6 separate regions of the Homo sapiens genome follow, and regions 2, 3, 4, 5 and 6 are each linked to region 1. The links are contacts of gene promoters, found by promoter capture Hi-C in blood cells and fetal thymus (Javierre and others, 2016). All regions are on one chromosome and are shown on one strand. Each heading gives the region's core, a stretch centred on a gene start or on the middle of the fragment in contact. The rest is flanking DNA. Distances are from core to core; before and after follow the strand shown.

The links. Contacts are between HindIII fragments. The CHiCAGO score rates a contact against its expected background, and 5 or more counts as called.
Region 2: a contact is called between a fragment that was not itself captured here and the fragment with the promoter of MLEC in region 1, in 1 of 17 cell types (naive B cells). The highest score is 5.7, in naive B cells.
Region 3: a contact is called between a fragment that was not itself captured here and the fragment with the promoter of MLEC in region 1, in 1 of 17 cell types (total B cells). The highest score is 5.1, in total B cells.
Region 4: a contact is called between a fragment that was not itself captured here and the fragment with the promoter of MLEC in region 1, in 2 of 17 cell types (total B cells and naive B cells). The highest score is 6.5, in total B cells.
Region 5: a contact is called between a fragment that was not itself captured here and the fragment with the promoter of MLEC in region 1, in 2 of 17 cell types (total B cells and naive B cells). The highest score is 6.5, in total B cells.
Region 6: a contact is called between the fragment with the promoter of HNF1A-AS1 here and the fragment with the promoter of MLEC in region 1, in 3 of 17 cell types (activated CD4 T cells, megakaryocytes and total B cells). The highest score is 6.7, in activated CD4 T cells.

Annotation. Positions count from the first base shown.
Region 1 is chr12:120,685,014-120,688,840 of GRCh38, reverse strand. It overlaps MLEC (malectin), which reads right to left and starts at 1,692. Exons shown (of 5, transcript NM_014730.4): 1 at 1,310-1,692. The coding sequence starts at 1,544. It overlaps LOC105370029 (a long non-coding RNA gene), which reads left to right and starts at 1,692. Exons shown (of 3, transcript XR_945449.3): 1 at 1,692-1,987. RefSeq lists silencers at 1,334-1,633, 2,474-2,573, 3,688-3,777 and enhancers at 1,388-1,889, 1,984-2,113, 2,204-2,313. The HindIII fragment of the contact is 12,504 bases long and covers 1-3,827 here.
Region 2 is chr12:121,195,510-121,199,336 of GRCh38, reverse strand. All of the region lies in intron 2 of LOC105370032 (a long non-coding RNA gene), which reads left to right. Among named protein-coding and RNA genes, the nearest start is that of P2RX4, 13 kb to the left of the region's middle. The HindIII fragment of the contact is 1,341 bases long and covers 1,126-2,466 here.
Region 3 is chr12:121,111,606-121,115,432 of GRCh38, reverse strand. LOC105370030 (a long non-coding RNA gene) reads right to left here and starts at 3,478. Exons shown (of 3, transcript XR_007063494.1): 1 at 3,379-3,478. The HindIII fragment of the contact is 2,011 bases long and covers 640-2,650 here.
Region 4 is chr12:121,094,056-121,097,882 of GRCh38, reverse strand. No RefSeq gene overlaps it. Among named protein-coding and RNA genes, the nearest start is that of P2RX7, 37 kb to the left of the region's middle. The HindIII fragment of the contact is 3,941 bases long and covers 1-3,638 here.
Region 5 is chr12:121,066,162-121,069,988 of GRCh38, reverse strand. It overlaps LOC105378258 (a long non-coding RNA gene), which reads left to right. Exons shown (of 4, transcript XR_007063492.1): 3 at 498-652. Among named protein-coding and RNA genes, the nearest start is that of OASL, 29 kb to the right of the region's middle. The HindIII fragment of the contact is 178 bases long and covers 2,024-2,201 here.
Region 6 is chr12:120,970,611-120,974,437 of GRCh38, reverse strand. HNF1A-AS1 (HNF1A antisense RNA 1) reads left to right here and starts at 2,146. Exons shown (of 1, transcript NR_024345.1): 1 at 2,146-3,827. RefSeq lists an enhancer at 1,026-1,553. The HindIII fragment of the contact is 11,110 bases long and covers 1-3,827 here.

The DNA.
Region 1 (3,827 bases), core at 443-2,942:
GCTACTGTGATCTACATGCCAGGGCTCAACAAACTCCAAGACAAACATAGAACTTCACAAAACAGCCCTGTGTCCCAAGACCCTCACATGTGTGAAAGGCAATAAACTCCTTAATATAACAAACTCCAGGACACTGCAATCGACTTGGGAAGAACTAACTATTTTAGTAAAAGCAAGAGCCAAATCTGGGCATCGCAGAAAAAGAATGAGAGAAAGTGAAGAGTGAGTCTGTCTCCTGGTTGTCTGGAGGTGGCATACTGCCAATTTGGTAGCCTCTGAACCCAGCATACAGTATCAATCTCCTAGCAAAGAACTTCCTTCTGAAACCTGTTTTCCAATCCCTCCAACAGAAGAAACAAAGATTATAAAGCTGATCTTCCAAAACGGTGGTCTCGGGGCAACCTACATCACAAGCCCCTGGTGCAGAAACCTGGATCCCAGCAAAAAAGCTCAATCTACTATAATCAATTTCGAGTGGGGACTAGGAATCTGCATTTTTAACCAGCTGCCCTGGCAATTCTGACACACACTAACTTTGGGAAGGGAGCAGCTCCGTTAAAAACCACTGTTGCCCAGCAAGTTAAGTCACAATCATTTTCCCCCTAAGCTGGAATTAGAACTCTCAGGATCACCTAGGGGAGGTTGTAAGCATTCTCTGATAGACCATTCGGATTCTTACACTGGTTGACCCAGTTCACACACAGCCACCAGCCTCACGTGCAGGATGGCTTCGATAGAACCACCCTCTGGGGGCGGCCTGCCGATTCTACTTTTAAGCACACATATTCTTCGCTCGAAAAGAGGGCGGGGGAGGAGGCTACAATCAAACTTTCCTGGCCCATTCTCTTCGAAGATTCCTTCCTATTCTGGCTAAGAATCAAGCCCCGCTCCTGCAGAAGGGGCAAGGAAAGCGGCCGATTCCTGGGTCGACGAGAATCTCCCAAGAACTGTCTCGACAGGAGAAGCAGGGGCACCCATGACCTACAACCCGCGAGGCCTGGAGGTAGCAAAAGGCCGCCTTCGTCATTTCTCTCCCAGCTTGGATGGGAGTGAGGGGTTGAGAAAATGCAGGATGAGAAATCCAAATATAACTAACTTCTGGCCAACTCTCTGCCTGTATGACTCTAGGTACCTTGGAGCCAGTGCCAGGCCCTGAGCTCAGAGCGGGCCCCCGAAGAAGCTGCAGAGAGAAACTTCGCTCCAGAGACGCGGCCCCAGGGTCGAAAGGGGCTCGGGGCCCGCAGCCCCCGGCCGGCTGCGCCCAGCACAGCAGGCCCTGGATCCCGCGGCTCGGCAGGGGGACTCTCACCTCGGCCCACCCGGCCTTCCAAAGGGTCCTTGCGGAAGTGGATCCCGTGCACGTCCACATGCGCCTCTCCACCCGCGTTGACCGCCCAAATGACGCTCTCGGGCAGCCCGGCCCCCGCCGCGCCGGCCACGCCGGCCACGCCGAGCCCGGGTCCCCGGATCGCCGGCGGCAGCAGCAGCAGCAGCAGTCGCAGGAGCGCCACAGCGGTTCCCTCAACCGCCCAGGCTCCCAGCATGGCGGCCACCACCACGGGGGCAGCCCCCGCCGACCCTCGTCCTCGGCCGGCTGCCAGGCCACCCCGGACTCAGAAAAACAGCGCCACGGGCCGCTCCGCCTGAGCCGCCGGGGACATGTCGCTCTCAGGCCTCCTTCTTCTCAGCCACGGGTACCGCCTCCCACCTCAGGAACAACCTACCCCGCCGCCCTGCCCCCGGCCACGACGCTGCAGCCAATCAGCGCCCGGCCCTCATTAATTACCCACCACCCCGCCGGGAGGCGCCCGCTCATTGGCTGTCAGGCGCGGGAAAGGGCGTGGCTTCTCCCAGGCGCCGGCCCAGCAGTCGGGCACCAGATGGAGCGCGCGCAGAGGGAGTGAGTTCGGTTGAAGCGGCGGTTCGATGCGGAAGTGGCGGGTGCAGCGCCCAGGCGGCCCCGGAATCCCACAGCTGAATGGGAAAGGTGGCCTGGGGGGGGAAGGTTTAGGGTAGGGCGCACTGACATGTCGCCAGCACTTCCGGTGCTCTAGCTCCTGAGACCAAATAGGCTCTGGAGGGGGCGTGGCCGACTTTCCCGCCCCCTCTTCTTTTCTCAGGGAGCAGCATGAGCATAAATTCTAGTAGGAGAAGCAATGGACACTCTCCAGACCTAAGAGACGCAGTCCTTTTCCCCGCGTGAGGGAGAGGACCCATGCTTTCCCAGAGAGGCCGCGGACACAGGTCTCCAGGGAACGAATCCCATGAGAATAAGGCCCCGCCCCCTCCCCTTAGCGGGCTCGGGGCGGGTGGTAGCGTCCAGACGGCCGTCCAATGAGAAGGCTCCAACGCAGCGGAAACGCGTGGCTTTGAGAGCGAGTGGGTGCCAGGCTGCTCGCGTCTCCATGGCGACGGCCTCTGGCCGGCCTCCGCTGCGTAGGGGCGGGACCGAGGCACCCTAGGCGCTGGCGGGAGTCGCCGCCGGCGGTGCCCAGAGTGGATACCGGGGTTGTCCCGCACGGGCACGGCCCGAACTCCCTCCCTGCTCCTTCACAGTTCACCTGGCGCTCTCCCACACTGGCGATCCCTGCGCTTCGGTCGCTGTTCAAACTCCCATTTTTCCGATGGGGAAACTGAGGCATAGAAAGGGACTGAATTTTGCCAAAGGGTCGCACCGCAAGTGTAGGGCAGAGTCAAGGCAAAAACAAAAAAAACAAAAAAACGCTTATGCATTTTCCATAAATACTGGTCGATTTAGAAATTCTCCCTAAAAGGAAAAAAATGTATCAAGTCCCTGCTACCAGGGTTGTCAGATTTGGCAGATAAAATAGGAGAAGCCCAGTTATATTTGAATTTCAGATAAGCAAATGGGACCCACTTATACTAAAAAAAAAAATGCATTGTTTATTAAAATTTAAACAACTGGACTTCTTGTATTTTATCTACCAATCCTACCTACTACTTAGGCAATGAGCTTTGTGCTACATGAACAAAAAACACACCTGGGGTCCCGCATGAGAATCATAGACTTTGCACAACCCATAATGAAATTAATTGTTTAGTTAGAACAGTGGTAAGTGCTATACGGGAACAAAACAGGGTGCCAAAATAGAGACTATCAGTGGTGGATCTAAATGCACCCAAATTCCTTCCCAGGCCCCAAATTCAGACCCCATGGGGGTAACTTTTGGAAGTGTTCCCTCCCGGTCTCACTTTCCCCCCTATTTTGCAAGCATCTGGCCTTACTTCCTCCCATAGACATGTTTCCTGTCCAAGGTGTTTCTTTTTTTTTTTTTTTCTGTCTTTTTTGGAGACAGAGTCTTGCTCTGTCGCCAGGCTGGAGTGCAGTGGTGCAATCTCGGCTCATGGCAACCTCCACCTCCCGGGTTTAGGCGATTCTGCTGCCTCAGCCTCCTGAGTAGCTGGGACTACAGGCGCGCGCCACCACACCCAACTAGTTTTTTTTATTTTTATTAGAGACCGAGTTTCACCATGTTGGCCAGGATGATCTCGATCTCCTGACCTCGGGGTCCGCGGCCTCCCAAAGTGCTGGGATTACAGGTGTGAGCCACCACACCTGGCCTCTTGGGGTTTCTAATTCTACTATTCTCTCTCTCAAACTGTCATCTTTTAAGGATCTTGACAACTCAGAGGCTTCAGTTACCCTCAAAGGAGGGGTGTGGTGCAAATGGGGAACAGAAACACAAGTAGTGGTGATGGGGCTTCCTCCCTCCAGGCAGTTGGCCTGCAGAGCCCACGTACCACTCAGGTATTGCACTGCCACCAGGCGCTCATGTTTATTTTATCCTCAAGGCAGTCTAGTCCAG
Region 2 (3,827 bases), core at 547-3,046, 510 kb before region 1:
ACAGACGGAAGCAAGGAAGGTAAGTCCTTGGCTGATCAGCCCTCTGATTTACCTGGGACTGAGAGGTTTCCTGGACAAGGGACTTTCTGTGCTAAAACCGGGAAGGTCGAGGCCAAACAGGATGAGTCGGTCACCTTCAGAAGGATTAAGTCAATGGACTTCAGGAAGGCTGATGACAGGCTGTATTAGGCCAGAACTCTATAAGCCATTGACACCCTCTCCTCCTTCCCTTGTCCACACCAGGCTTCACTCTGGAGAGAATGGCTAAACCTGTACTAGTTAAACTCAAACTTTCCTTGAAAGACAGTTTTACAGGGCAGTGGGGCGGCGGGGGTGGGGGGTCGGGGAACCAAGGAAACAAAGAACCCTGAAACAGATCTGTTAGAAAAGAAGGGGCTATTACAAGAAGCAGGGAGGCTTTCCAGGAAATGTGCCTTCCAAAACCCTATTTCTGGCCGGACGCAGTGGCTCATATCTGTAATCCCAGCACTTTGGGAGGCCGAGGCAGGCAGATCCCTTGAGTCCAAGAGTTCAAGACCAGCCTGGGCAACATGGCAAGACCCCATCTCTACAAAAAGTACAAAAAATTAGCCAGGCGTGGTGGCACATGTCTGTAGTTCCAGCTACTCAGGAGTCTGAGGTGGGAGGATCCCTTGAGCCCAGGAGGTGGAGAGCTAAGATCATACAACTGCACTCCAGCCTGGGTGACAGAGCAAGACCCTGTTTCAAAAAAACCCAAACCAGCCGGGCACAGTGGCTCACACCTGTAATCCCAGCATTTTGGGAGGCTAAGGTGGGTGGATCACCTGAGGTCAGGAGTTTGACACCAGCCTGACCAATATGGTGAAACCCCATCTCTACTAAAAATACAAAAATTAGCCAGGCATGGTGGTGGGCACCTGTAATCCCAGCTACGTGGGAGGCTGAGACAGGAGAATTGCTTGAACCCGGGAGACAGAGGTTTCAGTGAGCCGAGATCGCGCTACTGCACTTGCTGTGGGTGACAGAGTGAGACTGTGTCTCAAAAACAAAACAAAACAAAAACCGTGGGGAATTTTTTTTTAAAGTGTGAAAAAAAATAGAAAACTACATTTCTTGTGATCTTGTATCAGACACCTTCAAGCTTACCTGAAAGTTTGAATCAAAACAAAATAACAAAGTGTGCCTTTTATATAACTTGTCTCGTTGTGAAGACCCATCTGCTTTTTTCTCTGGTGAAGACAGGTTTTCTGAAACACACAGTGTTGAGTCTTTCCCATCCCTCAACAATTACTGGATTATTAGCTAAATAAGCATTCTCCAGCAGATCTAAATCTGACACAACAAGAATGCACGTTTCTTTGGCTCTGAACAGCATTTTATCTTTTGAAAACCACCTTCACGTGAGTGATACTCAGAATCCCATTTTACAGTTGAGTAAAAGCTCAAACTCATTTGTTTCTGATAAAACATTCTGGAGGTCTCCTTGCAAATTTTTCTGGTTCATTATGCCTCCCTTTATCCTCCATAAGATAATAGTTCATAGCCTATAGTCCCAGCTACTCAGGAGGCTTGAGCCCAGGAGTTCAAAGCCAGTCTGGGCAACATGGTGAGACTATGTCTCTAAAAAATAATTTAAAAAAAGATAGCCAGGCAGGGTGGCTCATGCCTGTAATCCCAGAACTTTGGGAGGCTGAGGTGGGCAGATCACGAGGTCAGGAGTTCGAGACCAGCCTGACCAACATGGTGAAACCCTGTCTCTACTAAAAATACAAAAATTAGCTGGGAATGGTGGTGGGTGCCTGTAATCCCAGCTACTCAGGAGGCTGAGGCAGGATAATTGCTTGAACCCGGGAGGCGGAGGTTGCAGTGAGCCGAGATTGTGCTGCTGCACTGCAGCCTGGGCAACAGAGCGAGACTCCATCTAAAAAAATAAAATAAAATAAAGAGATAATAATTGGTCGCTAAGAGGGAAGGAAGGAAAGCAGGACTCCTCAGACTCCAAAACTATCAACGTGTTATAACATTTTGCATTTTCAGTTGTTTTAGAGGTGGATAAGAATAACCTTTAAGTCCACATAAGAATCACAAAATGTTCTGTTGAGATTTCCCCAATTATTTATTTATTTATTTATTTTTGAGATGGATTTTCGCTCTTGTTGTCTAAGGCGTTAGGTGTGTGAGCTACACACCGAATCATGAGATACATGGCATGCAGTGATGTCAGCACAGCCAACAGGAAGTGTTTGTGGAGAGTAGCGCCCTATCCCTTTCTTCACTTGCTTCCCTTTTTCTCGTTTTTCTATCTCATGAGTTCCATTCTCTGGGCAATAGGAAATTGAGAGGGAAGTGGGGTGACTCAGTACAGTTAGTTTCTTTTGGCTTTCTTTGAAGCCGCCCTGCTTCTTGCAATAGCCCCTTCTTTTCTAACAGATCTGGGTCAAGTTTAACTAGCACAGGTTTAGCTACTGTCTCCAGAGTGAAGCTTGGGATGGACAAGGGGAGGGGGAATGGGCATCAAAGTAGGAAATTGAGTGGGAAGTGGGGGACAAAGTACAGTCAATTTCTTTGGGTCAGTGGAGGATAAAAGTTGCTTCTTTCCTGCCCTAAGAAATATCCAGAATGCTTATCTCTTGCCTTTAGTCATTTTACCCTAACCCAATTAGGGTTAGCATTAGGGCTAAGGTTAGGGTTAGCCTTAGGGTCAGCCTTAGCCTTCCATTTGGACAAAATCTGCCATTTGGCCGGGCGCAGTGGCTCATGCCGGTAGTCCCAGCACTTTGGGAGGTGAGGAGGGCAGATTTCTTGAGGCCAGGAGTTCGAGAACAGACTGGCCAACATGGCGAAACCCCATCTCTACGAAAATACAAAAATTATCTGCGTGTGGTGGTGCACACCTGTAATCCCAGTTACTTGGGAGGCTGAGGCAGGAGAATCACTTGAACCTGGTAGGCGGAGTTTGCAGTGAGCCAAGATCACGCCACTGTACTCCAGTCTGCACGACAGAGTGAGACTACAGCTCAAATAATAATAATAATGATAATAATAATAATAATAATAATAATAATAAAAATAGTGTGAACCCGGGAGGTGGAGCTTGCAGTCAGCCAAGATCGTGCCACTGCACTCCAGCCTGGGCAACAGAGTGAGACTCCGTCTCAAAAATAAATAAATAAATAAAATAAAAATAAAAATAAAAATAAAAATAATATAAATATGAAAATAAAGTTCTGCTTTAGCTGTGTGCCACCGATTTTGACATATATTACATTCATTATCCAGTTCTATTGAGTCATTTAGCAATATTTCTTACAATATTTCAATCAGCTTCCAAATATTTTAAAAATCTACCTCTTAAAAATTAATTTCTGGCTGGCGTGGTGGCTCACGCTTATAATCCCAACACTTTGGGAAGCTGAGGCAGGCAGATCACCTAAGGTCAAGAGTTCGAGTCCAGCCTGGCCAACATGGCGAAACCCTGTCTCTACTAAAAATACAAAAATTAGCCGGGCATGGTGGCAGGCGTCTGTAATCCCAGCTACTCGGGAGGCTGAGGTAGGGAGAATTGCTTGAACCCAGGAGGTGGAGGTTTCAGCGAGCCGAGATTGCACCACTGCACTCCAGCCCTGGCGACAGAGCGAGACTCTGTCTCAAATGAAAAAAAAAAAAAAAGAAAAAAAAGAAAATGAATTTCTAATTTCCTTGAAATGTGGTTAGAGAACCTGGTCTGTATCATATTGCTGTTGGGAATGTATTGAGGAAAATACATGATCTAATGCATATCTGTTGTTATAACCCTTCCTTGTGCATCCTAAAAAAGAATGTATGGGCCAGGCACGGTGGCTCAT
Region 3 (3,827 bases), core at 396-2,895, 430 kb before region 1:
CTCTTAATCTTAATCTTAATCTGGTGGCACCCGGGCTCTGGAGTCATATGGACCTGGATTTGAACCCCAGCTCTGCCCCTTCATCTTGGTGTGACCCTGGACAACTTGCTTAGCATCTCTGGGCCTTGATTTCTTCATCTGTAAAGTGAACATTGGTGGCATTTTGCCCATATAGTTGTTGCGAGAATAACCAAGATAAAATGACCCCTTACTATGTGCTATTTACAAATGTTAGCTGTAATTATGCTTTTGCTTTCCAATTTAACTAGCCAGGTAGGTAGGTAAGTAGGGGGAGAGAGAGAGGGAGAGAAGGAGGAAACAGCAAAAATAAAAGCATTTTTTTCTCTGATAATTTGAGGAAAATATACTTGTCTAGACCAGTGGTTCTCAACTAGGGATGACTGTGTGCCCCAGGGACGTTTGGCAATGTCTGGAGACATCTTAGTTGTCACGACTGAGGGAGTGCTACTGGCATCTGCAGCCAGGGGTGCTGCTAATCTATAGGACAACCCCTGTGACAAAGAAATACCTGGTTCCAATGTGCACAGTAGCCAGGCATGGTGGCTCACACCTGTAATCCCAGCACTTTAGGAGGCTGAGACAGGAGGATAGCTTGAGCTCAGGAGTTCAAGACAAGCTTAAGCAATACAGGGAGACCCTATCTCTACAAAAAATACAAAAAAATTAGCCAGGCATGGTGGCGTGTGCCTGTAATCGCAGCTACTTAAGAGGCTGAGGTGGGAGGATTGCTTCAGCCCAGGAGGTTGAGGCTGCAGTGAGCTGTGATTGTGCCACTGTACTCCAGCCTGGGCCACAGAGTGAAACCCTGTCTCAAAAACAGCAACAACAACAACAAAAAACAAAAGTGTCCCCAGTGCCTAGGCTGAGGAATCCTGGTCTATCATACATTGACATCTCTGATATTAAGGGCCACAGTGCAAGGTACAGTGTCTGGCACATAGTAGGTGCTCAATGAATGTTTGACAACCACATGAATGAATGAATCAATCAATCACAGAATGGATGAATCATCGAATGAATGAATGATTATATAGTTCATTTGTCATTTGGCTGAGTGCCTGGGACAGGGCTGCATCCGAGCAGCTGTTCATTAAATAGGTATGGACAGGTTCCTGTAAATGTTCCCTTCTGAAGCAGCTGGGGAGTGAGGTCCTGGCGGGGGAACACCCGGCCTCACAGCTGTGGTTCCAGGTCATGATAAATTGCTGTGGGAAGCCACAGAGCAGACAGCTCATCACACATTGTAATGGATTCATTGTCTTCTCTCGTGGCCCCCTTTATCTCAAACTCTCAGCAGACAAGGGTTAAAAGGGAGTGAGCTGAGTGAGGGCCTGTGGATGCTGCTCTTCAGGAAAAGGAGGGAAAATGAGCCCAGACAGGATCATCGTTAACCGGCTCCAAGGTCAAGAGCCGGGTTAGAACGTTAGAATTAGAGATGGGGGCAGGGATGGCGGCGGGACTCTCTCCATCACCACACCCTATCTAATTCATTTATTCAACAAATATTTATTGAGTACCAGAGACTCTTTGGGCATATGTGAGTTAACAAAACAGATGAAATCCTTACCCTGTTGGAATTTATATTTTAAAGAAGCAGGATGAACAATGGACACATAGGCCGGACATACCATGTGTGAGGGGCCCTGTGCATTAGGAGAAAAATCAGGTAGGGAGGGAAGATAAGGCATGTTTGGGGCTGAGTTTTTCCATTGAGGTGAAATTCAAATAACATGAAATTAATCATTTAAAAGTGAACAATTGGCCAGCGCGGTGGCTCAGGCCTGTGATCCCAGCACTTTGGGAGGCTGAGGCGGGAGGATTGCTTGATCCCAGGAGTTAGAGACCAACCTAGGCAACACGACAAGACTCCATCTCTGTTTTTTTTTAAGTGAACAATTGAGTGGCATTTAGTTCATTCACAGTGTTATGTAACCACTATTTCTGTCTAGTTCCAGAACATTCTCATCACCCCAAAAGGAAACCCCGTACCCATTTGGCCATTCCTCCTCCTCCAGCCCCTGGTAACCGTTGCTTTTCTTTCTCTGTGTGGGTTTGTCTGTTTTTGGATATTTCACATAAATGGCATCATACACTATGTGGCCTTTTGTGACTAGCTCCTTTCACAAGAATCTCACCTTGTTTTCAAGGTTCATTCATGTGGTAGCATGTGCCTTTCATTCTTTTTTATGGCTGAGTAAAATTGAATCACATGGATAGACCACATTTTGTTAATCCATTCGTCTGTTTAGGGACATCTGGGTTGTCTCCATCTTTGGCTACTGTGAATAGTGCTGTTGTGAACATTTAGGTTACAAGTATCTGTTTGAGGCCAGGCATGGTGGCTCACGCCAGCAGTCCTAGCACTTTGGGAGGCCGAGGCGGGTGGATCACTCGAGATCAGGAGTTCGAGACCAGCCTGGCCAACACGGTGAAACCCCATCTCTACTAAAAATAAAAAATAAAAATAAAAATGGTATCTGCTTGAGTCCCCATTTTCAATTCTTTGGGGTAAAAACCTAAAAGTGGAACTGCTGGGTATATGGTAATTCTATGTTTAACTTTTTTAGGAATGGCCAGTTTCCCACAGCAGCAGCACCATTTTACACTCCTATCAGTAATATACAAAGCTTCCAATTTCTTCATCTCCTCACCAATACTTGTTATTTTCCATTTTTAAAATAACAGTCATCCTAGTGATAGGAAGTCGTGTGTCCTGTGGTTTTGATCTGTGTTTCCCTAATACATATCATTACGTGGTGAGCATCTTTTCATGTGCCCATTGGCCGTGTATATATATCTTCTTAGATAGTCCTTTGCTCACTTTTGACGTTGGTCATTTGTCTTTTTGTTACTGAGTTAAAAGCATGGAGCTAACTTATTTTTATTTATTTTTATTTTTTTATGTTTTTTGAGACAGAGTCTCATTCTGTCGCCCAGGCTGGAGTGCAGTGGCGCAATCTCGGCTCACTGCAACCTCCGCCTCCCAGGTTCAAGTGATTCTCCTGCCTCAGCCTCTCAAAGTGCTAGGATTACAGGTGTGAGCCATGACGCCCAGCCTGAACTTTTAAATAGGGTGATCAGAAAAGACCTCCCTAAGATGATGACTTTTTTTTTTTTTTTTTTTTTAAGATGGAGTCTCACACTGTTGCCCAGGCTGGAGTGCAGTGGCGCGATCTCGGCTCACTGCAAGCTCCGCCTTCCGGGTTCACGCCATTCTCCTGCCTCAGCTTCCTGAGTAGCTGGGACTACAGGTGCCTGCCACCATGCCCAGCTAATTTTTTGTATTTTTAGTAGAAACTGGGTTTCACCATGTTAGCCAGGATGGTCTACGATCTCCCGACCTCGTGATCCACCCACCTTGGCCTACCCAAAGTGCTGAGATTACAGGGTGAGCCACCGCGCCCGGCCAGATGATGACTTTTAAGTGAAGACCTTAAGAAGGTGATGGGGGATGCCAAGGTGATATCTGAGAAGAGCATTCCAGGCAGAGAGGATGTCACATGCAAAGGCCCTGAGGTAAGTCACTTTCATTTGTCTGCAACTCGGTTTTCCTGTCTGCAAATGGGGAGGAATAAAACCATGAAGCATCACGTCAAATGCTGGCAAATTATCAACACCTGGGTTCCCCACAACTCTTGCTCTTAAGCAAGATACTTAATGTCTCAGAGCTTCCATTTGCTCACCTGTAAAATGGTGATAATAATAATTGTACCGACCTCACAGTGTTATCAGATTAAAAGAAATATGATTTGCCAGGGCTTGGCACACAGTAGTGTTCAGAAATGCAGGGTTTGAACCCAGACCAG
Region 4 (3,827 bases), core at 419-2,918, 410 kb before region 1:
TGAATTCAGTTCTCTCTCATTTCCTGGACAATAGTTCTGTTTTTTTCAGATTATTCTGATCATTTCAAATTAAAGCGAAGACACATGATCAGTTCTCAAGTCCTATGTTCTCATTAGGAAAAATAGAAAAACATGCAACTCTAGCTGAATATGGTGGAAAATATTTTGTTAGAGGTCCTTTCATAGGGCCTTTGTCCAGATGTTTGGACCGAGGCCCCCGAGGGCATGGAGAGCCAGCCTGAAGGACAGCGTAGGGTGTGCCTGCAGGGAAGGTCGTAGCTCACCAGTGACAGAAGAGGCAGACTCCCCTTCTTCCAGGCCTTGGTCTTCTACATCCTAGCTCAGTGGTCATTTATTTGTCAGGCCCTTCATTTTACTGATTTAATAACGTGTTTAAGGCAGGGTGCGGTGGCTCACGCCTGTAATCCCAGCACTTTGGGAGGCCGAGGTGGGTGGATCATCTGAGGTCAGGAGTTCGAGACCAGCCTGACCAACATGGAGAAACCCATCTCTACTAAAAAAAAAAAAAAAAAAAAAAAATACCCCGACGTGGTGGCGCATGCCTGTAATCCCAGCTACTTGGGAGGCTGAGGCAAGAGAATAACTTGAACCCATGAGGTGGAGGTTGCAGTGAGCTGAGATCATGCCATTGCACTCGAGCCTGGGCAACAAGAGTGAAATTCCGACTCAATAATAATAATAATAATAATAATAATAATAACAACAATAATAATAATGTGTTTAAATAATTTATCTCATATCTCTGCACCTTCACTCCATTTCTTTTCAAAGAAACAGAGAAAAACAAAAACAAAATGTCATAGTTCTGGGCCGGGCACGGTGGCTCACACCTGTAATCCCAGCACTTCGGAAGGCTGAGGTGGGTGGGTCATTTGAGGTCAGGAGTTTGAGACCAGCCTGGCCAACACGGTGAAACTCCACCTCTACTAAAAATGCAAAAATTAGCCGTGCGTGGTGGTGGGCATCTGTAGTTCCAGCTGCTTGGGAGGCTGAGGCAGGAGAATCGCTGAGGGAGCCCGGGAGGTGGAGGTTGCAGTGAGCTGAGATTGTGCCACTGCACTCCAGCCTGGGCAACAGAGCAAGACTCTGTCTAAAAAAAAAAAAATAAAAGTCACAGTTCTACTTGACCCAGCAGCAGGCTTTAAAACCAGAGGCTTTAATTCTCCCAATTTCCTCATTTGTCAAAATGCAGAAGCCAATCTAAGTAAATCACCTAGAACGGCAGCAAGCTACGTAAGTTCGGGGCTGAAATGTGATATTTCTTCTGAATCTCTCTTTTCTTACAACATCAGAGAAATGGGTAATAAATAGCACCAAACCCAGGGGCTCCACATTTATTCCTCTTTCCGGAGGAAATAAATTCTAGCCACCATATTTCTCAATAGGAACCGATATGTAAGGAGAATGAATTTATTCATTCATGAGTCATGTATTCAATCCTGATAAAAATACTTTATTCTGGTCTTCAATAGCAAATATGACCGGAGAGCCAGAGGGTCAGTGGTCCTGCTCTGAGCTGTGCAGGTGGGGCTGTCTCTGGGTAGTGGGAGGGTCGGGTGGGTGTTTCTGACCTGGGCGTCTTTGCCCAGAGGAGCAGAAGTGAACACACGCCCTCCCACTGGGCTCTTCTGCTGACGTGGGTTGGTAGGACGGTTATGGCTCAGCTTAGGGTCCGCAGCTGGGCAATGAGGAGACTGGAGGGGCCTTTCTCAGGTAGTGGCGTCTGGTAATCAGCAGATGGCGCCCGAGGTCGCTGGGCCCGCCCCGCGTGCGGGTCTTTCTGGTTGACTCCCCAGGCTCTTGCGTGGGAACTCACCACTGAGCACTGAACGCAGTTCCTCAGTCCGAGACCTCCTCACTCTCGCAGGACGCACAGTTGCACACACAAGTCCCTCACCTGTCACGACCCACGCTCTTACATACTCTCCCACTCCCACCCACACCCCCTCTCTCAGATGTGTGATCCAGGATTTCCTCTCCACCCACAGCCGCAGACGCCCCCACGGTTCGTGCAAATGTGCACACTCGGTGCAGCAGATCCCCGCCTCCTGCACACGTGCGCGTTTTTCCAGCCTCGCACTTTATCTCACACGTTTTCTCACCCAGAGACCCCATTTCAGACACACACACCCTCTCAGCCTTTTCTCTTGCCTCCCAACCCCTTAAAACGGAAATCCTTTATTTCCTCCGGAATTTGCTCACTTCGTGAAATGCCGGTCTGTCTTCTGGCGGATCCTATAGGGCAGCCCTTTCCTGCCCCTTGGTTCCAACAGCCCCTTTCATGCCAGTTTTTGTCACGTGCCTCTTACCATGCTGAAGTGAAATTGACCCAGCCATCACACAATGCCCTAACTCAGGGGTCTGCAAACAATGGCCCCAGAAAGCTGTTTGTTTTCCCCCAGCTTTATCTGAATATGCTTGAAAAGTAAACATTGTATATATTTAAAGTGGGCAACCGGATATTTAATACACATTGTGAAATGATCACCGCAAACTAAAACACCCACCATCTTACATTGTTACCACTTTCTTTCTTTTTTGGAGGTGGGGTGGTTAAGGATCTTAAGATCTACTCTCTTAAGAAATTTCAGGTATACAACAGAGTGTTGTTACACGCTGTACGTTACATCTCCAGAACTTACTCATCTTGTATAACTGACACTTTATACCCATTAAACAACACCCCGTTTTCTCCAACCCTCAGTCCCTGGCAACGACTATTCTACTCTACTCTCTGCTTCTATGAGTTTGGTTAGTTTAGATTCCACATATAAGTGAGATCATGCAGTATTTATTTATTTATTTATTTATTTATTTTTCTTGATGTGGAGTCTCGCTCTGTCGCCCAGGCTGGAGTGCAGTGGTGCCATCTTGGCTCACTGCGACCTCTGCCTCCTGGGTTCAAGCGATTCTGCCTCAGCCTCCCGAGTAGCTGGGACTACAGGCGTGCACCACCACAATCTATTTTTGTATCTTTAATAGAGATGGAGTTTCACCATGTTGGCCATGCTGGTCTCAAACTCCTGACCTCAGGTGATCCACCTGCCTCAGCCTCCTGAAGTGTTGGGATTACAGGCGTGAGCCACTGTACCAGGCTGAGATCATGCAGTATTAGTCTTTCTGTGCTTACTTATCTCACTTAGCATAGCAGGTTCATCCAGGCTGTTGGAAATGGCAGGATTTCCTTCTTTTTTGGAGCTGAATAATATTCCATTGCGTAGACACGTTTCCCTCACCCATTCATCTGTGGATGGATGTTATTTTCCATAATGGCTGTACAAGTTTACATTTTTACTAACAGTGTACAGTGATCCCTTTCCCCCACATCCTCAATAACAGTTGTTATCTTTCCTCTTTTGGATAATAGCCATTCTAACAGGTGTGAGGTGATGTCTCATTGAGGTTTTGATTTGCATTTCCCTGATGATTAGTGCTGTTGAGCACTTTTTCATACACCCGTTGGGCATTTATATGTCTTCTTTTGATAAATATCTGTTCAGGTTCTTTGCCCATTTTCAATCAGGTGATTTGTTTTTTGCTACTGTGTTCCATGAGTTCCGTATATATTCTTGATATTGCCTCCTTATGAGATGTACGGTTTGCAACGTCAGGAAGCTTTTCCCCTGTGTTTTCTTCTCGTAGTTTTATGATTTCAGGTCTTACATTGAAGTCTCTAATCCATTTTGAGTTGATTTAGAATATGCAAAGGAAGCACTTGAAAAAGCCAGCACTAGGTTGGGCAGATCCCTCCTGTGGGAAACTGACTTGGGATAAGAGCAGGACTGCCTGGCCCCCCAGTGAGAGGT
Region 5 (3,827 bases), core at 863-3,362, 380 kb before region 1:
CCCCTCAGGAGATGCACTGGTGAAAACATAGTGACTTTTTTCCCCTAAAGACTCAGTGAATAGCCAGCCGTTTACATACACAATGATAGATAAATTCGTCTATGAATTCACAAAGATTGGGAGATAACTAAATGCATAGTAATATATAGAGATAAGTGGAAAAATTAACTTTGATAATTATATTGTTAGAGAAATATGATTTTTATTTAATTAAAATATTAAATACTATTTTTTATTTTTAATAAAAAATATATTTTAAAAAGTAAAAAAAATACGATTTTTATTTAATATCAACTAATGCTATCTTTTATCTAATTCCAAACAGTTTGTTTATAGGTTCTAGAAATATTAGATCTCTCAGGAATGGTAGAAATATGACTTTTTAGGGAAATATGACTTTTAGAAATATAACTTTTAGAGAAATATGATTTTTATAACTGAATATCTATTTATGCTGTCTTTTATCTAATTCTGAACAGTTTGCTTATTGCTTCTAGAAATATTAGATCACTTAGGAATGATAGAAATATCTGGTGATGGAATTTCAAGAATGGAACCTCTGGCCGGGCGTGGTGGAGACAGAGTCTCACTCTGCACCGTGCCGGCCAGATTTTGGTATTTCTTATGGGAAACCTGAGTTCCTGCATTAGAGGTATGTTCACACTGGCCTGTTGAATGCTGTCCTCTTAAATGTATTTAAAAATTATCCTCTGTATTTTTCGTATGCGGTTATAAATGTGTTTTGGGGATCTATTTTATTCCTTAATTTATATATTTGATTCTAGCGTCAAGCAGGTTCCCTTTGAATTTTTCCTTTAAAGAACATGTGCTATTTCCTATTACATCCTGTACCCCTCAAACTGCCCAATTAGGTATACTCCTGGGGAAAATATGGCAAAGTTTGTTGTAATGCAGTTTTTTTACCTAATTAAGTAGCTACTAAAATAATTAATTTCAAAAATTTGGAGCAAACCTAGAAAGATGCAGATGTCTTTGTGGCTTTTCACGCAATCAAGTTTACCTATCTTTGCTTTTAATATGTATTTCCTCTTGATGAAATGTTTATTTAGTTTAGTAAACTTGGGATATGTCATTTATATCCATAAATCAACTTTTTAAAAAAGAGATAATAAGAATGTGTATTGTCTATGTGTTCGTGTGTAAAACAAGATCCACTTTTATTTTTTATTATTTATTTTATGATTTGAGTTTATTTTATAAATGAGTTTATGCAGAATCATAGAGGTATCAACTACAGTCAATCACCCAACCTACTTACCTTTCCAAAGGTAAATATACTCAAGTACAATCATTTTTTTCTCATCCAAAGAGTAGCCCATATTGAATAAAGATAGGGACATGAAATGAATCGGTAGACACTATTAACCAAGAATATACAGATTTATTCACACCAAGAAACAAGTAAGTCATATGGATATATATATAAAGATAAATTTAAAAATAATAAGGTGATAATTGTACAAGTTTGCATATAGAGCTGCAGCTCTGAAAAACTGTTTATATTGTTTTGATATATTGTGTGACTTGTTCCCCTAACCCATCACCCGGAGTTGATGCTAAGATACTGTTGGTTCCATGACTCGGAAGCAATCTAAGGTTAGAGGCACTTACATTTGCTAGGAATAAATAAGGCAAGATGATATTTTTCACCACTTTTAGCACAGCAGACTTGTCAGTAGATAAGCGGCTCCACCCAGGACACTGGTATTCATCTCATTCGCACAGCTCATCTGTTGACCATGACTCAAGCAACTGGACCACTCTGGAGGACCATAGTGCCCTTTAAAAAATTTTTTTTTGTATTTTTAGTAGTGACAGGGTTTCCCCATATTAACCAGGCTGGTCTCGAACTCTTGACCTCAGGTGATCCACCTGCCTTGGCATCCCAAAGTGCTGGGATTACAGGCATAAGCCACCGTGCCAGGCCTCCTAATGTGCCCTTTTATGTGGAGTGGCCATTGAGTGTGCACTCAGCCAGACACAGACAGCATTTTTGAAAGCTTTATCTGAGTATTTCAAAATTGAGTATGAATTTGGATAAAGTGGTTGGTTGTAGACCAAGCAGGAAGATGTCATAGAAAGAACAATGGCTTGGGAGTTCGGAATCCCGGGCTTGCATGAATCTTTGAGCTTGTTAAGTCGTGCAATCTAAAGCAAGGCATTTCACTGATAATTAAGCTTCATGAGCATTTGCACTGATAACATTATACACATTGAACAATTCAGAAGTCACCACATACGTATGGCGTGGCTTACTCTCACCTTTCACCGGTTGGAGAAAAAGAGACAGAGATGAATGTGATCAAGTTTATGAGCTCCTAAGTAAAAGAGCCAAGATGGGAACCCAAGCATGTGGCTCCAGCGCCGAGGCTCTGAGCAACGGATGCACCATCATCACTCAGCTGTGGGACCACCAGTCACTGTGCAAAAGAGTTCCATCATCTGTATGTATTGACACGTCTGGAATTATCTGAGCCTATAGAGTTCCTACACACTATCCACAATATATGCTGGTGTCAGTGGGCACATAGCCCAGCACAGGTATTAGTGCATAAATACCACAGGTTTATCATAGTCATTATGTGAAACCCACTTAGAAAGCCCAAATGCTTTCGGACAGCTCGTAGATTTTGAGAGCTCGGGGACACCACTTGGGACAGCCAGTAAAATTCTTTCAGTGCTTGGCCGCTCCTCAGCACCTGTCCCAAACTGATAAATAACGAGAAGACTCTTTTTTCCAAACGGAGTTTGGCTCTTGTTGCCCAGGCTGGAGTGCAATGGCACCACTTCGGCTCACTGCAACCTCCATCTCCCGGGTTCAAGCCATTCTCCTGCCTCAGCCTCCTAAGTAGCTCAGATTACAGGTGCATGCCACCACGCCCAGCTAATTTTTTGTATATTTAGTAGAGAAGGGGTTTCACTGTGTCGGCCAGGCTGGTCTCAAACTCCTGACCTCAGGTGATCCACCTACCTCGGCCTCCCAAAGTGCTGGGATTATAGGCGTCAGCCACCGCGCCCAACCAGTACCTATTTTCTTTGAAACATAACAACTCTCTCATCTTCATCCTAAAATGTTCAAAGCATATTAAAGGGCAAAAACCACAGTATGAAGAGACAGAGCATGCATCAGAGCCAGACTGCAATATACAGAGATTTGATGATTATCAGACTGATAACTATGATTAATATGCTAAAGGCTCTAATGGAAAAAGTGGATGAGATTCAAGAACCAATGGGATGTAAGTAGAGAAGTGAAAACTCTAAGAATCAAAAGGGAATGCTAGAAATAAAAAATGCCGTAACAGAAACGGAGAAGGCCTTTGATGGACCCGTCAGTGGACTGCACGTGGTTGATGAAGAAATCCGTGAACCTGAGAAAATGTCAATAGAACTTCCCAAACTGAAAAGCAAGAGAAAAAAAGACTGAGGAAAACAGAAAAAAATATCAAAAAATGGCGGGACAATTACAAAAGGTATAACATCTTCGTAAAGGGAATTCTAAAAGGAGAAAAATGAAAGAAGCAGAAGAAATATTTTAACTAATAATGGCTGATAACTCACCAAAATTATTGACAGACACCAAGCCATAGATCCAGGAATCTCAGAACACCAAACAGGATAAATACAAAGAAGTCAATATCTCATCATATCATATTCAAATTTTGTAAAATCAAAGATAAAAACTTTGAAAGAAGCCGGGCACAGTGGCTCAGGCCTGTAATCTCAGCGCTTTGGGAGGCCAAGGTGGGCTGATCACTTGAAGTCAGGAGTTCGAGACCAGCCTGGCCAACATGGTGAAACAGTCT
Region 6 (3,827 bases), core at 897-3,396, 290 kb before region 1:
TTGTTTTTTGAGACAGGGTCTCCTTCTGTCGCCCGAGCTGGAGTGCAGTGGCACAATCTTGGCAAACTGCAACCTATGCTTCTGGGGCTCCCGTGATCCTCCCACCTCAGCCTCTCCAATAGCTGGGACTACAAGCGTGTGCCACCATGCCTCGCTAATTTTTGTATTTTTTAGTAGAGACAAGAGTTTGCCACATTGCCCAGGCTGGTCTCAAACTCCTGAGCCCAAGCCATCTGCCCACCTCGTCCTCCCAAGGTGCTGGGATTACAGGGGTGAGCCACTGCACCCTGCCTATTTATTTACTTTTCTTAGAGATGGGGGTCTTGCTTTGTTGCCCAGGCTGGTCTCGAACTCCTGGGCTCAAGCAATCCTCTCACCTCAGCCTCCCAAAGTGTTGGGATTACAGGCATGAGCCATCTCACCTGGCCAGTAATGTATTTCACTCCAAGAACAACTCATGAATTAGGAACTGTTATAATCCCCCTTCTGCAGGGGAGGAAAGAGAGGCTCAGAGAGGTTAAATGACTGCTCAGAGTCCCTCAGAGCTGGGCTTTAAGTCCACCTGAGGCAGGCGGACGGGCTGTGCAGGACAAGTTGGCAGCCCCCGCCTTAAGGAGAGTGGTACCCTCTTTCCTCCAGTGCATTTATGTTTTATTTTTATTTTTGAGACAGAGCCTCACTTTGTCACCCAGGCTGGAGTACAGTGGTGCGATCTCAGCTCACTGTAACCTCTGCCTCCTGGGTTCGAGCAATCCTCCTACCTTAGCCTCCTGAGTAGCTGGGACTACAGGCACACACCACCATGCCTGGCTAATTTTTGTATTTTTGGTAGAGACAGGGTTTCACCATGTTTGCCAGGCTGGTCTCAAACTCCTGGCCTCAAAAGATCCACCCACCTCGGCCTCCCAAACTGTTGGGATTATAGGCGTGAGCCACCGTGCCCGGCCAAGTGCATTTTTTTGTAAACCCCCGTGCAAGTTGCTTTGAGGTTGAGCAGCTTACTGCTGGGGACAGCATTCTCAAGTCCAGGCTAAACAGGGAAGATGCTGTGTGCTGTCCCTTTGTGGCTTTGAGGTTCTCCTGCTTATTCTCTTTGCTGCCTGCAGCTGCCTCTTGGTGACTTTCCCTTTCCAGGGAGCCAGAGGAACCAAGGAGTGTTGGCCCTGACTCCTGCCCCCAGCATGTAAACTCATTAACTGCTGGGTCCTCAGGCAGTTAGGTGGCTGAGCATTTGAGTCTGGGACGGCAGGTGGATTTGGTTGGAGAGGGAATGACAGAGATTGGGGAGGAGCCTCCAGAGTCTAAAGAGATAGGTACACAAGCAGAAAGTTCCAGCCCCCAGCCTGCCTTTCCCCCATGCTCAGGGGACAAAGCTGAATTAACTCGAGGTCAGGAATGGCATTTGCATTTGCATTCTTGAGAGTCACTGCAAATAAGAGCTGTAGTCATGGTGAGTGGTTAAGGCAATGGACTAGAGAACCACTGAGAAAAAAAGCGAACAGTGGCTGGGCGCAGTGGCTCATGCCTGTCATCCCAGCACTTTGGGAGACCGAAGTGGGTGGATCACTTGAGGTCAGGAGTTCGAGACCAGCCTGGCCAACATGGTGAAAACCCGTCTCTACTAAAAATACAAAAATTAGCCAGGCTTGTCAGTGGGCACCTATAATCCCAGCTAGTCGGAAGGCTGAGGCAGGAGAATCACTTGAACCCAGAAGGCAGAGGTTGCAGTGAGCTGAGATCATGACACTGCACTCCAGCCTGGGTGACAGAGAGAAACTCCGTCTCAAAAAAAAAAGAAAAAGAAAAAAAAAAAAAGGAACAGCCGGACATGGTAGCTCATACCTGTAATCCCAGCGCTTTGGGAGACCGAGGCAGGTGGATCACCTGAGGTCAGGAGTTCCAGATCAGCCTGGCCAACATGGTAAAACCCCATCTCTACTAAAAATACAAAAATTAGCTGGATGTGGTGGCGCACACCTGTAGTCCCAGATACTCAGGAGGCTGAGGCAGGAGAATAGCTTGAACCCGGGAGGCGGAGGTTGCAGTGAGCAGAGATCACGCCACTGCACTCCAGCCTGGGCGATAGAGTAACAATCCGTCTCAAAAAAATCTGAAAATTAAAAATTAAAAAGTGAACAGTTGTTTAGTAAGTGCAGTAGGTAGGCCAAGATAACTATTAAGTATGTCCTAACAAGGTAGCTGCTTGAAAAAAATAATGCACATAAATTAAAAAAAAAAAAACTATTTTCACTCATTCTTAACTTCTCGTATGGATGTACTAACGGGAGGCCTGTGCCTGTTGGGCTGTCCACAGCTACTCAAACCTTGAGATTAGATTGGACGCTATCTAATCTCATTTCCTGTTACACAATAACTTCTGCATGGCACTTGCTTTTAATCATGACAACTGCCATACACTCAGCTTTACAAAATCATGTCATTGTGGAAAGGAAGTTCCCTCCATCTAACATTCAAATTTAACTATCCTGAGCTGGTAGTTTGCAAGGTGTCCAACAGATGTCACTGTGTTTCCTTCGCAAATTCTCTAAAATAGTCTGCTGTGTCCCGGGGCATAGTAGATATTCAAGAAATGGTGGCTATGAGTTTTATCACAATTCTCTCCTACTGGGTGAGCAGCTGTTTGCAAGACTAAAATTCGGGCGAGGCACAGGCTTCCCCTTGGTCTTAGCAGCTAGCACAAGACGAGTGTCCCTTCAGCCAGTCTCAGAGCTCTTTGGCAATTCAACTGACCCTTGTCCTTCAGTCCAGACAATGCCCCAGGGCCCACCTGCATTCAAACTCGGACTGTTCTCCTTCCCACCCCTATTATCTTTTCAACTTTATGGACAGTACATGCAATTTTCTCATTCATTTTCTCATTTAACATCTAACAGCTTCATGATATCCCCATTTTACAGATAAGGAAACCAAGGCTTTAAGAGGATAGGGACCCTAATCGGCTAAGGCAGAATTAGGATTTGAACCCAGATCCCCATGACGCCAGAATCTAAGCCTTGACCAAATATGTGTTACTATTACTTTTGTTGTTGTTGTTGTTCTGGGTAACTCCAACCCTCTGCTCGTTGGCCTTGTCACCTCAGTGCTGATTTTGCAGATGAAGAGACTAAGGTTCCGAGGTGCTAGAGCACAGTGGTTAGGAACACACACTCTAGAGCCAGAGTGCCTGGGTTTGAGCCTCGTTCTGCCGTTTACTAGCCGTATGGCCTTGGGCAACTTGCTTAACTTCTCTTTGCCTCAGTTCCTCTTCTCTTGGGTTGTTAGGAGAATGAATGAGGTGATATCCACAGTGTCCAACACCCTGCAAGCGGCCAGGTGTGGTGGATCACACCTGCAATCCCAGCACTTTGGGAGGCCGAGGCAGGTGGATCATTTGAGGTCAGGAGTTCGAGACCAGTCTGGCCAACATGGCGAAACCTCATTTCTACTAAAAATACAAAAATTAGCCGGGCGTGGTGGCAAACAACTGTAATCCGAGCTACTAGGGAGGCTGAGGCAGAAGAATCGCTTGAACCCAGGAGACAGAGGTTGCAGTGAGCCAAGATTGCACCACTGCACTCCAGCCTGGGCGACAGAGTGAGACCCTGCCTCAAAAACTAAAAATAAAAAATGAACAGTGTCCAACACCTTGAAAGCATTCCGCATGACTGAACGATCACTGTTACGTGATTACCAACATGACGACCCCACTTCTCTTGGCCAAACTGAGTTCTCTTCTCTTGTAAAAACTTCTGCATATGAAGTCACCCATTCCATTTGACTCTTTAGCCCTCATCCTGGCATTCAAGGGCATGGACGACTCAACCCCA